2 separate regions of the Homo sapiens genome follow, and region 1 is linked to region 2. Evidence: promoter capture Hi-C in human tissues and cell types (Jung and others, 2019). All regions are on one chromosome and are shown on one strand. The core of a region is centred on a gene start or on the middle of the fragment in contact, and the rest is flanking DNA. Distances in the headings are between cores, read along the strand shown. Region 1 overlaps C5-OT1 (C5 3' UTR overlapping transcript 1). Region 2 holds the start of STOM (stomatin).

The links. Contacts are between HindIII fragments. The study calls those that stand out against the background at their distance.
Region 1: a contact is called between a fragment that was not itself captured here and the fragment with the promoter of STOM in region 2, in 1 of the 25 tissues and cell types used here (aorta).

What each region holds. Positions count from the first base shown.
Region 1 is chr9:120,940,453-120,947,048 of GRCh38, forward strand. C5-OT1 (C5 3' UTR overlapping transcript 1) reads right to left here. Exons shown (of 2, transcript NR_148450.1): 2 at 1,800-3,057. Among named protein-coding and RNA genes, the nearest start is that of C5-OT1, 9.1 kb to the right of the region's middle. RefSeq lists an enhancer at 4,394-4,443. The HindIII fragment of the contact is 6,248 bases long and covers 1-5,636 here.
Region 2 is chr9:121,366,207-121,372,130 of GRCh38, forward strand. It overlaps STOM (stomatin), which reads right to left and starts at 4,044. Exons shown (of 7, transcript NM_004099.6): 1 at 3,921-4,044. The coding sequence starts at 3,981. It overlaps LOC102723324 (a long non-coding RNA gene), which reads left to right and starts at 3,687. Exons shown (of 7, transcript NR_187160.1): 1 at 3,687-3,760. RefSeq lists enhancers at 4,049-5,009, 4,469-4,558. The HindIII fragment of the contact is 10,810 bases long and covers 1-5,924 here.

The DNA.
Region 1 (6,596 bases), core at 1,263-3,762, 430 kb before region 2:
ACAATTTCCCCCTTTCGAACTATTAATTTATATGTCAGGTTTTTTATATCACACAAAGTACTTCAATAAATTACAGTGGTATTGCTTTATATACCATAATTCTAGATTCATAGTAATTCTAGGCTAATTCCTACTTGATATCTCCACAAGAATGTCTAAAAGGCTTCTTAAACATAACAAAGCCCTGACAGAAATCCTTCTTCTCTTCTGTATTTGCTTGTGAGCACTGGGTAACAAAGTGCCACAAACTGGGTGGCTTGAAACAACAGAGATGTATTCTCACACGGGGCTGGAGGTTAGAAGTCTGAAAGCAGTTTCGGCAGGGTTGGTTTCTTCTGGCCGGCTCTGAGGGCGGACCCGTCCCGTGCCTCTCTCCTGGCTTCAGGTGACAGCAGTGGTTCTTTGCCTTCCTTGGTTTGTACATGCATTACTCCAATTTCTACCTCTGTCTGCATGCGACCGTCCTCTCCCAGTGTCTGCATCTTCACGTGAGGTTTTCTCTGCGTATCCCTGTGTCTACATTTCCCTCTTCTCATAAGGACACCTGTCATTTTAGATTAAGAGCCACCCTATTCCAGTGTGACTTCATCTTACCTTAGCTAATTACACATGCAACAAACTTATTTCCAAATCAGGTCCTACTCTGAGGTACTGTAGATTTGAATTTCAACATATCTTTTTGAGTGACGTAGTGTTCAACCCATAACATCTTCTTTCCTTGTTTTCCTAAATGTGTACCTTCTCCTGTCTTCTCCAGCTGTGTAAATGGCATCTGCAGCAGTGCAAGCCAGGAATCCGTGAGTAATCCTTGACTCCTCTGCATTCATTACCCCACCCTGATTCCTTCAGCAAATCCTCTCAGCACCACTTCCAAAACTATCCTGAATTCATCCCTGTCTCTTCATCTCCATTTCTTCCTTTCTAGTTGAAGCTACTGTTACCTGTCACATGACAATGGCACCAGCTCCTCACTGGTCTCCCCTGACTCTGTTCTCATCTACAACCTGGTCTCATGCCCTTTTGCTTAATACTCTCAACTGCATAGAATCCAAACATCTCACCAGTTCTTACAAAATCCCAGTGATCTGGCCCCTCTCACTTCTCTGACCTCATTGTCCATCACTTGCTTTCTTCGATCCAGCCACGTCAGCCTTCTCGCTGTTCCCTGGACCCCTGGGTCTTTACACGCACCAGCCTGGACCTTCATGTGGTTGTTCCTTCTTGTCAAGAAAATCTCAGCTTAAATGCCACCTTATTTAGTGATATTTGATAGACCTTCCCTAACCATGCAATCTAGAGCAGCCACTGAGTCATTCTATATCATAGAACTTTTAAAAAATTCTCTGCAGAGGCCAGGCGCGATGGCTGACACCTGTAATCCCATCACTTTGGGAAGCCGAGGCAGGCAGATCACTTGAGTTGAGAGTTTGAGACCAGCCTGGGCAACATGGTGAAACCCTGTCTCTACTAAAAGAAGAAAAATTAGCTGGGCATGGTGGTGCGCACCTGTAGTCCCAGCTACTCAGGTGGCCGAGGCAGGAGAATTACTTGAACCTGGGAGGCGGAGATTGCAGTAAGTCAAGATCATACCACTGCACTCCAGCCTGGGCAACAGAGTGAGACTCTACCTCAAAAAGAAAAAAAAAAATTCCTCTGCAGAGAATTTAGTAAATATATTATTTTCCCTCTTTAAGTGGGTATTTATTGTCTTTTTCCTCAATTATAACATAATCTCCAGGAGAGCAGGGACTTTGTTTATCTTGATTACACCATCTAGAACTGTGCCTGGCATGCAGGAGGCACTCAATAAATATTTATTAAATGAATAATCTTCCACAGAAGATCTTTGTGTACCAACTATTTTTTTTTCCTTTTGGGAATTTATATAAATCATTCAACAGGAGAAGGATTACTGGATCAAGAAATATAAACATATTTTGGCTCCTGAAATGCATTGTCGAATTGCTTTGCAGACAGATAAGATCAGTTTTCATTTGTTGGGCAAATTTTCAAATCCCAAGTGCCAAGACAGTGATTTCTGGTATGTGGGAGAGGGGGGAGGGGAAGGGAGAAAGGAAGGAGGGAGGTGGCGGAGGGCAGGCATAGGCCGAATCAGAGCTGCTGTCCCTGGTGGGTCAATGGAACTAGAAGCAGCAGCAGTAGTAATCAACCAAGCAGGCCCACCCTCCACAGCGTCTCAAAGGCCCACGCAGGGCAGGAAAGATCTGCTGTATGAACTTGGGTCTGGCCACAGGAGCCAGAGTGAGCAGAAAAGCTGACAGGAGCACCTGCTCTTCGGCTTGCTGTTGAAATCCTGAAGGCTGGGTCAGGGGCCAATGAGCAAGTGGGAGTGAGGACACAAAGTGAGGCTTGGATCTGGTACTGAAGGCTCCTTTGCAGAGGCTGTTTCTGGGTTGCAGCTACTCTGCTTAGGACACGGGATCTGGAACATTAAGTTACACAAGGACCTCTGTCCATAAACCTCCAGGAACACAGAGGCCTCTTCACGTAGTTCTGCTGCTGCCAGGCCCATTCAGCAGCATGCTGGCCCTGTATTCCTTTGCTTCCTGCTCCGCCACTAGAGCAATGGCATAATTTTTAAAAAGTGAAATAACATGAATAACATTTGCTAGGAACATTACAAAAAAGGTGAAGTTAAAAAAAAGAATCCCTAAGAACTAATACATAGAAGCTGAGAATAAATTAATCAGACTAAGGTACCAGTTGAGTAATCCTTATCCAAAATGCTTGGAACCAGAAGTGTTTCAGATTTCAGATTTTTTTCAGATTTTGGAATATTTGCATATACATACAATAAGATATCTTGGGGATGGGACCATGTCTAAATACAAAATTCATTTATGTTTCATGTATACCTTATATACATCCCCTAAAGGTAATTTTATACAATGTTTTAAACAATGTTTTACATGAAACAAAGTTTGTGTTAAGTACTTATGTGTGGAATTTTTCATTTGTGGTGTCATGTTGGTACTCAAAAAGTTTCAAATTTTGAAGCATTTCAGATTTTGGATTTTCAGATTTGGGATGCTCAACCTGTAATTATAAAATTATGGTAATTAGAAGAAAAAAAGAAAAATTATTAAAACCGTACAAAAGTTAACAGGATGACCCATCCCAGACCTATAGAATGAGAACCTGCACTTTCACAAGCTCTTAAACAACACTTCTGAAACTTTAACATGCCTATAATATTCCTGGATTTTTTTTTTTTTTTTTTTTGAGATGGAGTCTCACTCTGTCACCCAGGCTGGAGTGCAGAGGCGCAATCTCGGCTCACTGCAAGCTTCACCTCCCGGGTTCACGCCATTCTCCTGCCTCAGCCTCCCGAGTAGCTGGGACTATAGGCACCCGCCACCACGCCCGGCTATTTTTTTGTATTTTTAGTAGAGACGTGGTTTCACCGAGTTAGCAAGAATGGACTCGATCTCCTGACCTCGTGATCCACCTGCCTCGGCCTCCCAAAGTGCTGGGATTACAGGCGTGAGCCACCACGCCAGGCCTGGATATCTTATTAAAATATAGATCTCCGAGCTCTGCTCCCAAGATTTTCTGTTTCAGTAGGTCTGGGGTGGGGTCTGGGAATTTGCATTCCTGACAAACTCCCAGGCGGCCAGGGACCACACTTTGTATAGCATTGTTCTAAGGCTGACAGTCCTGAGGACCAAAAGAGGAAGGCAAATGGGAAAATTCGAGGCACTGGAGGAGGTTGTTTTTTAAGATAGTGGTCTTTTCCCAATTTTTAAAAAAGCACACCAGGCAGTCTCTGTCTATGGTATCTTAGCACAAAGATGCTTTTTGTTTTTAATGCTATGTTTATATTTGTGCAAGATTCTACATTTTAAAATTTCTCTCACTTGTTGGATCTTATTTCATCCTTGCAACAAATCTGTAAATTGGGTTGGGGGAAATTCTTTCATTATTTTTAAAAGATAGAACTGAGGCCTAGAGAGTTAAGACAGCTGGAAATCACACTCCAGCTGACTGCCACAGATTGTGGGCTCCTGAGTTGGCACTAAGGTGTTTTTCCTAATCATTATAACCCATTAGGGCTGATAATGTTACTTCCGCTTTCTAGATGGGCAAATTGAGACTTGATGAGGTTCAGGAACTCTCCCAAGGCCACAAGTCAGGGCAGCTCCTCTGTTTCATGGTTCAATGTCTTACTTCTTCACTGTATCACTTCCCCATACTAACTCCTCCTTTCTCTCTCTGTCTGTCAGTCACACACACACAACATAGCCAAATCAGTGAGCCATTTTAATTTCGACACCCAGCATTTATTTAATGAACAGACCACAGTTTGGCCTTTCGCCTTTAGAGGTGAAAGGAGGAGGCAAGAAGAGGATGAATGACGACCAGCCTTGCCCCAAGGCCCTAACAGACTCAGGAAACCTTTCTGCCTTCTCCTCCAACTCTAAGCATATCTCCTTTCCCTTCCTCTTCCTTTGCCCTCAGAGAATTACAGTCTAGTCCTGGCTCTAATTTCCTAAAGGTTCTTTATTTGGAAAATATATTATTAAGCCAAACAATCCTTTCCTTAACTCCAATTTCTCTTGTCTCATTCAGTTTCAACCCCCCTCCCACCGACCACCCTTCCAACACCAACACACACACACACACACACACACACACCCCTCCAGCCTAACAACAACAACACCAAAACCCTCTGATTGCTCCCAACTCATCTGTTAGACATGTTAGCCCTGGCCCTCACCACCAGGCTCGGGTCTCTGCTTGCCCCTGCAGGCAATGTTTCTATTAGGCCCTGAGGAGACACCAGGCTGCATATAGGAAGGCAGAGGAGCCTGGTGCTGCGGGTTCTAGCCCCAGCTCTGTTGTGGAACCCTCTTGGTGAGTCCTGGCTCCTCCCTGGGCCTGCTTCCTGGTCTGTGAAATGGGGAGGCATTGATGAGATGATCTCTAGAGGATCTTTAAATGTCAATATTTTATGAATCTAAGTAGGATGTTCACAGGTAAAAAATTATTGAATTTACCACCTCTAGTGTGCCAGAGAGGTATTATTACCCAGCCACAAGTTACTTTTATTGTGCCAGGCACTGTGCTAATCATTTTATGTGCATTATCTGTATTATCTCATTTGAGCCTTGCAGAAATCCTCTGACTTGGGTATTATTAGTACTTCTGTTTTTCAGATGTGAAAACTTCACCTTTTTATTAAAGCAGTCAAGTAGATGTTTTCTTGACTATTAAAAGTCTCTCAGCACTGAAGGGACATTAAGCCCCCTACCTTGAATTGCCCAGAAACATCCCTGGAAGGTGGCAGCTAGACTCTGCTCAGATGGCCCCAGCAATAAGGAACTTGGACCTGACTCTACTTTTGAATGGCTATGGCTATAAGAAAATGCTTCTTCACAGGGAGCCAAAACTGGTGTCTCTGTAACTCCTGCTCATCTCAGTGGTGGGAAGAATGCGGTGTTCAGAGGCCTCACTTGGGCTTCTGTCCTGGCCTTTCCATTTATCAGCACCATAATCCTAGACAAGCTGCTCCTCTGGACCTCCATGTTCACAGGCAAAAAATGAAGGAATCGGATGAGATGAGCTCTAGGTCCTTTCTGGTGTGGGCATTTTAGATTTGTATAATTCATGACTGTGCATGTAACATACACATATCTGACTATAATGATGGAAACAGAGAAGGAGTGGAATTTTGGTGGCGGGGGGCCTCTGTCAGGTATGAGGCTGTGAGCATGGTGTGTGTATGTGCATGTTTCTGGGACAGGGGTCTGTGAAAGAGAAGAGTGGCCCTGGACAACTGGCGTGAGGCCTCGGTGTCCCTGGGAGCCAGTCTGGTGCCCAGAGCCAGGCTGGGGTGTTCTCTGTGTCTGATGTCATAGAACATCAACATCAGACAAAATGGATCCATACTAAAAACGACTACTCTATAATCATGTTTGAGCAGGATATAAAAACAAGAACATTGTCCAAACCACAAAAATGACCACACACACCCTTTTCCTGGCTAAAGTGAGTAAGTGCTGCTACTTTTCCTCCCAGCTAGAAAAGAAATAAGATACTGGGTCATAGGATTGCCCCTGCTTCCTGAAAGCATCCAATCCAGAGTAAAGTTCCATTTCTTTGAGGCTCCTCCCAAATACTCTATCACAAGTACAAATCCTATAATAAGGCTTTTCTAATGCACTCTCACCGAGAAGCCTTATGGTCCCCATGGTGTGTGTTCTCCCTTGTTGCAAAGACTCAATAAACTGAAACTTGTTCAGTTCCAGGTATTCCTGGTTGTCTTGATTGGAGGGAATTGATAAGTCTATAGCTTTCATTAGATTCTGAAAAGGATGTGTATGTGGCTGGAGAAAATCCCACAACCCATGCTGATCAGTCCCACTTTAAATTCATGACTAGAAACTTCAAGTGGACCCTTAATACGAAGAAGCAAATATATTACAAGTCCTTAGTTGGTTCAGCCTCCCTCTCTTTTAGATAACTGTCTCACCCTTCTTTCCTCCCGTCACACCTCCAATTGCTCCTCCCTATCCTCCATCTCAGGTGATGATCTTCATCCTACTTCTCTGAGAAAGGGACTTCCACAGACTCTC
Region 2 (5,924 bases), core at 2,794-5,293:
CTTCTGAAATGTGAGGCCAAATGCTTGGAGTTCAAGTTTCTTTAGTAGTCCCAGCAGACAGAGAAAGATTAAAAAAGAATGTAGCAACAAGTGTGTGTCAATAGAAAATTATTTTAATTGAAATGATCTATTTTAATTATCAACAAGTGTGTGTCAATAGAAAATTATCTATTGACACACACTTCCTTCTTTCTACTAACCATGACCTCTAAACTTCTCTTTCCATGCTTTAATAAATAAAAGGAGATTTCTTATTAAGGACAATATATTATCTTGGCAATTATAATCCTTTTATTGATAATATAAACCCAGACAAATAGTCTATCTGTAATAATATATAATAAACATAATGGCCATGCCCTAAAATCAACAGCTTAAGTTATAACAAACTTAATAAAATAAATGGTAAACAGAAAAACTGCTCCACCAACATAAGGCTAAGGCAAACACTTAACAATGTTATTTACTCCAGGGGGATTTTTATCTCCCTGCCTGCTTCCTTTTTCTTTGAACAAATGTTTTTGTATACCTACTATGTACTTGATACTGGGCTACTACAGTGAAGAAGGACACAATCTCTATTTTCAAAAGTGTGGTCTAAAGGCCAGGCTTGGTAGCTCATGCCTGTTGTCCCAGCACTCTGGGAGGGTAAAGTGGGATCGCTTGAGTCCAGGAGTTCGAGACCAGCCTGGGCAACATAGTGAGACCCTGAGTTAAAAAAAAAAAAAAAATTAGCTGGGTGTGGTGGTGCATACCTGTAGTCCCAGCTACTCGAGGGGCTGAGGTGGGAGGATCACTTGAGGCTACAGTGAGCTATGACTGCACCATTGCACTCCAGCCTGGGCAACAGAGCAAGACCCGGTCTCAAAAAGAAAAAGTGTAGTTTAATTATGGGAGGGGAGGGGACAGATGAGTCAAACTGATAAATATGTTATGTAATAAACATTATGATAGAGATATGCACAGGATACCAGGCAGACGCAGGGAAAGGGTATTCACTTTTTTTGTAGTTACAATAGTTTTCAGGAAATTGCTTTTCCATGCCTTCTTAAAAAAACTGATTTTGAATTCCATCTGTATCACTTTATCAACATCTTTTTTTTCCCTCAAAGATGACTAGGAATCAGTGACTGTCTTTTACTAGGTAAAATTTATACCATCAAATGGCACCAAAAATCTATTTAATCATGAATAAATATGCCAGTTTTGTAGACTTGGTCTTCCATAAGTTAATTTATGACCACTGATGGAATAACTCAGATTAATTATTGAAGAAGTTACAAAGTTCTCTCCAATCTGATTGGCTATAACAACTGAAATAAACAATCAGTCTCCCAAAGGGTTTTATTTGTTGACATGGCTCTTAATTACAGTGATACATTCTTTGCAATTACTTGCATTATTTCATTACAAAGTGAATGCATCGCCTTTAAGAAAAACTAGTCTTGCCCTAGGCCTGGTGCTATTTACCTACCTAGGACTAATTCTCAGTAAAGACAAAGAGGCAGAGTTTAGGCTTTTAAAATTCCACTGCTTCTTTCACAAGCAGCCTTCTGGAAGTCATCACTGAAGCTGTGTTCCTCCAGGCTTTTTTTGTTTATTGTCTCTCAACTTAAGTAAAGTACTGAAGTTAGACAAGGTTCTACATTTTGGTATCCATCTCTGGGATAGGGAAAATGATTCAGAAAATCAGATAGCCGGGGTTTGAAACAGGGCTGAAAATTTTAGAAACTGTGATTTTGCCATGTGAGCCGCAGTATCCTTATTGTGAAATGGTGAATAATGACTTTTTCCTTGTAGAGCTGTTACAGAATGCAATTAGATAATGTTTGTAAAGCACTTAAACTGTCTTTTGGCACAGGGAAAGCATTCAATAACCTCTATTTAATAAATTCCAGCAATACCTTTCCTAGTAGCGTCAAATTTGTTAGGTTTACATTAAAAAAACACAGACTATGCAAAATTTTATTTGTATGTCTAATTTTTGAGAGGAAGTGGTGGTTTTCATTAGATCTTGAAAGATTTCTGTCTAAACAGTAGTTAAGTGTAGAACCAAGGAAAAAAACTGGAAGTTAAAAACTCATCTATGACCACTTGTCTGTAAATAAACATTAAGTACAAAGATCATGTTGATTCTCAAAGAACTCCAAGCAGATTTGCCACTGCAGTTTCCCACCAGGAGGTCAGGGTATTGAGGAATGCATGCTAATACCCACCTTTTTATCTAGGAAAAGACAACTAACTATCGAAGAGGCAGTTACCACCCATTTTTTCCCTATTCAAGTTTTAGAATCAGTCAAATCTAGATTTAAATACAAACTAAGTGACTTTAAGTAATTTAACTTCTTTGACTATCAGTTTCATCAAGTATAATATGGGGATAAGAATACCTACCACATCATCTGTTGTGAAGATTCAATAAAATAATATATACATAAAATACGTGGCACTGGGGGGGTCGCGGTGGCTCATGCCTGTAATCCCAGCACTTTGGGAGGCCGAGGCGTGTGGATCACTTGAGGTCAGGAGTTTGAGACCAGCCTGACCAACATGGTGAAACCCTGTATCTACAAAAAATACAAAATCAGCTGGGCATGGTGGTGCACGCCTGTAATCCCAGCTACTTGGGAGGATGAGGCAGGAGAATCACTTGAACTCGGGAGGCGGAGGTTGCAGTGAGCGGAGATCACACTCCAGCCTGGGCAAGAAAAGCGAAACTCCGTCTCAAAAAAAAAAAAAAAAGTGATACGGAGCCTGACCTATTTAGTTTCAATTTTTGTTGTTGTGGTTGCCATTATTCTCATCAACTCCTCCCTGTTACACTCTCCATTTGGGAAGATAACCTGCAACGTTATTAGTAGACAAAAAGTGAGGAATAAAGATTTCTGTAATTCCTTTGATGCTCCTGGGAAGGAACTGAACACAGGGATCCCTGGACAAGGGAAATGGAACTTATAGCTAAGATGCTGTGGATAAAGCTGGCTTTACAAATAATCAGAATAGATGACTCCAATGTCATGTTCTTTGAGGGGTCCTGGAAAGGACCACCCAGCCCTCTAAATTGCTTTCACTGCCATCCTGCCTGAAATTCCATCTTTAGAAACACTGTAATTCCTCTGGATCACTAAGAGCTCCTGAGTGGGTACCAGGACTCCTGAGAGGTCCACCATCTCTCTTTATTGGAACCCCCTCCCCAGAGTACCAGTTCCTCCACAGGGGAACGAGACTGAGCCACTTACAGCTCCTGCCTTGAAGACTGGGAAGGGAGGGTGGGGGTGAGGGTGGGAGAACTCAGGGTTCCTGGCGAGGAACAAAAGCCGGGAAGGAGAGTTCTCCAAAACGCAGAGGAAAGCGGAGGGGGAAAAATGGGGCAGAAAGTGGAGCTAGAAAGAGAGGTAAGAAGAAAGCCAGAGAGACTTCTTCCTTCTGCAAATCGGTCTAAGTTTCGGGAGGTGGGATTGGGGGAGGAGGGGGTTCACCCTGGGGCCAGGCCAGGGCTGGGTGGAGGAGGCGGCCTTCGAGAGAGTGAGTCGGGAAAGAAGGGGAGTGGGCAAAGGGTGAGATGTGGGGTCCCGGTCCCCGCCTCGCTGGCTGCCAGTTCCCTCTGCGTTTCCTAGTCCGCGTGCGTGACACGAGATAGTGCAGCCCTGGCATGGGGCTTGGCATCTGGCGGCCGCGAGATAACCAGGGCCCGTGCGATGGGAAACGTGCCGTTGGCAGCCCGCCACCCCTCCATCGTGACCTCAGTCTGCCAAACAGGGTTCGTGATGCTCAGTTTACTAGGGAGGAGCCGCGGCTTTGAGATCTCGCCCAGCCCGAAGCAGCGGAGACTGGCCAGGAGCCCGGCTGTCAGACCTCGGAGCGCACGCTGCGGGCGGGGGCTCGGTCCACGGGGGAGGGTCAGGGGACGCGGGACTCACCCTTGAAGGAGTCGGGGAGCCGCTGGGCTTCGGAGTCCCGTGTGTGCCGCTTCTCGGCCATGCTGCCCGAGACGCAGTCGCACTCCCCCGTCCTCGTTGCCAAACCCGGAGCCGCCGGGAATGCCCTGAGGAGCCAGAGGCACAAGACCCAGATTGCCGCCCCGCCCCCAATCGAGGTCCCGCCCTCGTGAGAGTTGGCCAATCAACGCCCAGGATCGAGGAGGACCCACCTCCCAATCCCCGCCCTCCTGTCCCTCCACGGCGCGACTGCTTCGCAGTCACTTCCCGCTAGTTCTGTGGGCTGAGGGGCGTGGCCTGAGGGGCGTGGCCTGAGGGGCGAGAGCCCCCAAGGCTGTGGGTATGAGGCCGGGGCCCTGCACCGGAAGGGAGGGCGGAAGCCACGGGACGTGGAGCAGATGGTGAGGATAGTGGGGAGGTAGCAGCAGAGGATGACCCGAGGCAAAAGTGCAAGTGAAGAAAAGTCGCCTTGCCGGGCAGAGGTACGGGACCAAGGCGCCTCCTCTGGGCTGAGGAGTTAGAGGGAAGAAAATGGCGCCCTGTCATGAGGGCGCGAGGTCCGAGTTGAGGGGAGAAGACTGAGGGACACAGAAGTGGCCGAAGTGAGGGCGCTGAGGTCAGCCTGAGCTGAGAGGGCCGGCAGATCACGCCGCAGCCGAAGTGAACGAACTCGAGTGAGGTGTGTTAAGAAAATCAAAATGTATAAATTTGGAAAAGGAGAGGAGGCCGGGCGCGGTGGCTCACGCCTGTAATCCCAGCACGTTGGAAGGCCGAGGCGGGTAGATCATCTGAGGTTAGAAGTTCGAGACCAGCTTGGCCAACATGGTGAAACCCCGTCTCTGCTAAAAATACAAAAATTAGCCGGGCGTGTGGCGCGCGCCTGTAATCCCAGCTACTTGGGAGGCTGAGGCAGGAGAATCGCTTGAACTTGGGAGGCAGAGGTTGCAGTGAGCCGAGATGGCCTGGGTGACAGAGCGAGACTCCGTCTCAAAAAAACAAAACAAAAAACAAAAAAACAGGAGAGGAGACTTTATTTCTTGTAAGGGGTTACAGCCTGCAAGGTGGCCATTCCGCAGGCTGGAGAATGGCCAGGACCAGAGACAGGCATTTCGTTGGAGGAGGGGTTGGAGTAGCGGCTTTATGCTGAACAGCTTGGGTAGACATGCATATTCAGCAGGTGACAGGAGGAGCTATGAATATTCATGAGGGTGGTCCTGACGCATGCCCATTGAGCAAACATGCATGTAACATACAACCCATGTTCATTTTGGAGTGAAGAGTTACCAATTAAATGTTAAATGCCTGGCCTGCATGGTGACGTCCCCATCTCTACAAAAAGTAAAAAAAAAATAGCCAGGTGGGGTGGTGTGTGCTTGCGGTCCCAACTAGTCAGGAGGCTGGGGCAGGAGGATCACTTGAGCCCAAGAGTTGGAGGCTGCAGTGATGTATGATCAGATCACTGCACTCCAGCCTGATGGACTCTAAAAAATAATAACAATACATGTATTACAGTTAGACCCCATGCGTCAAAAGGTCTTTTCAGGACAGGAAGGTGTGCAAGTATGCAGTCTGTGTAAACTAGCCAGAGCCAGTCCATGGTCGGTAGTTTTCCTATGAGGAGAAAGTTACTGAAATCAGCCTCTTGTCCAATTAAAGCTGTAATGATGGCTGGTGGAATAGGGGTTCCATTAGGCCACATCTGGTGGAGCTGCAAATTGTTTTAATATTGCTTATCTCGAGGCCAGTGCTTGTTAAGCTGCTAGAGAAAGAGAACAACCTTGTGGCAGTTAGAACACAGTTTATTCTCTAAGTGAAGGGATGTGTGCCTTAACCTTTGCCTGGCATGACCTTAGGTATAATTTGTTTATAATTTGGTATCTTATTGTCACAAACAGTCTGTTCTGTCAGTCTTATGATCTGTGTTTTAACGTTAATGCTGGTCAGCTGTTGTGTCTAAACTCCAATACGATGAAGTTATAATGAGGC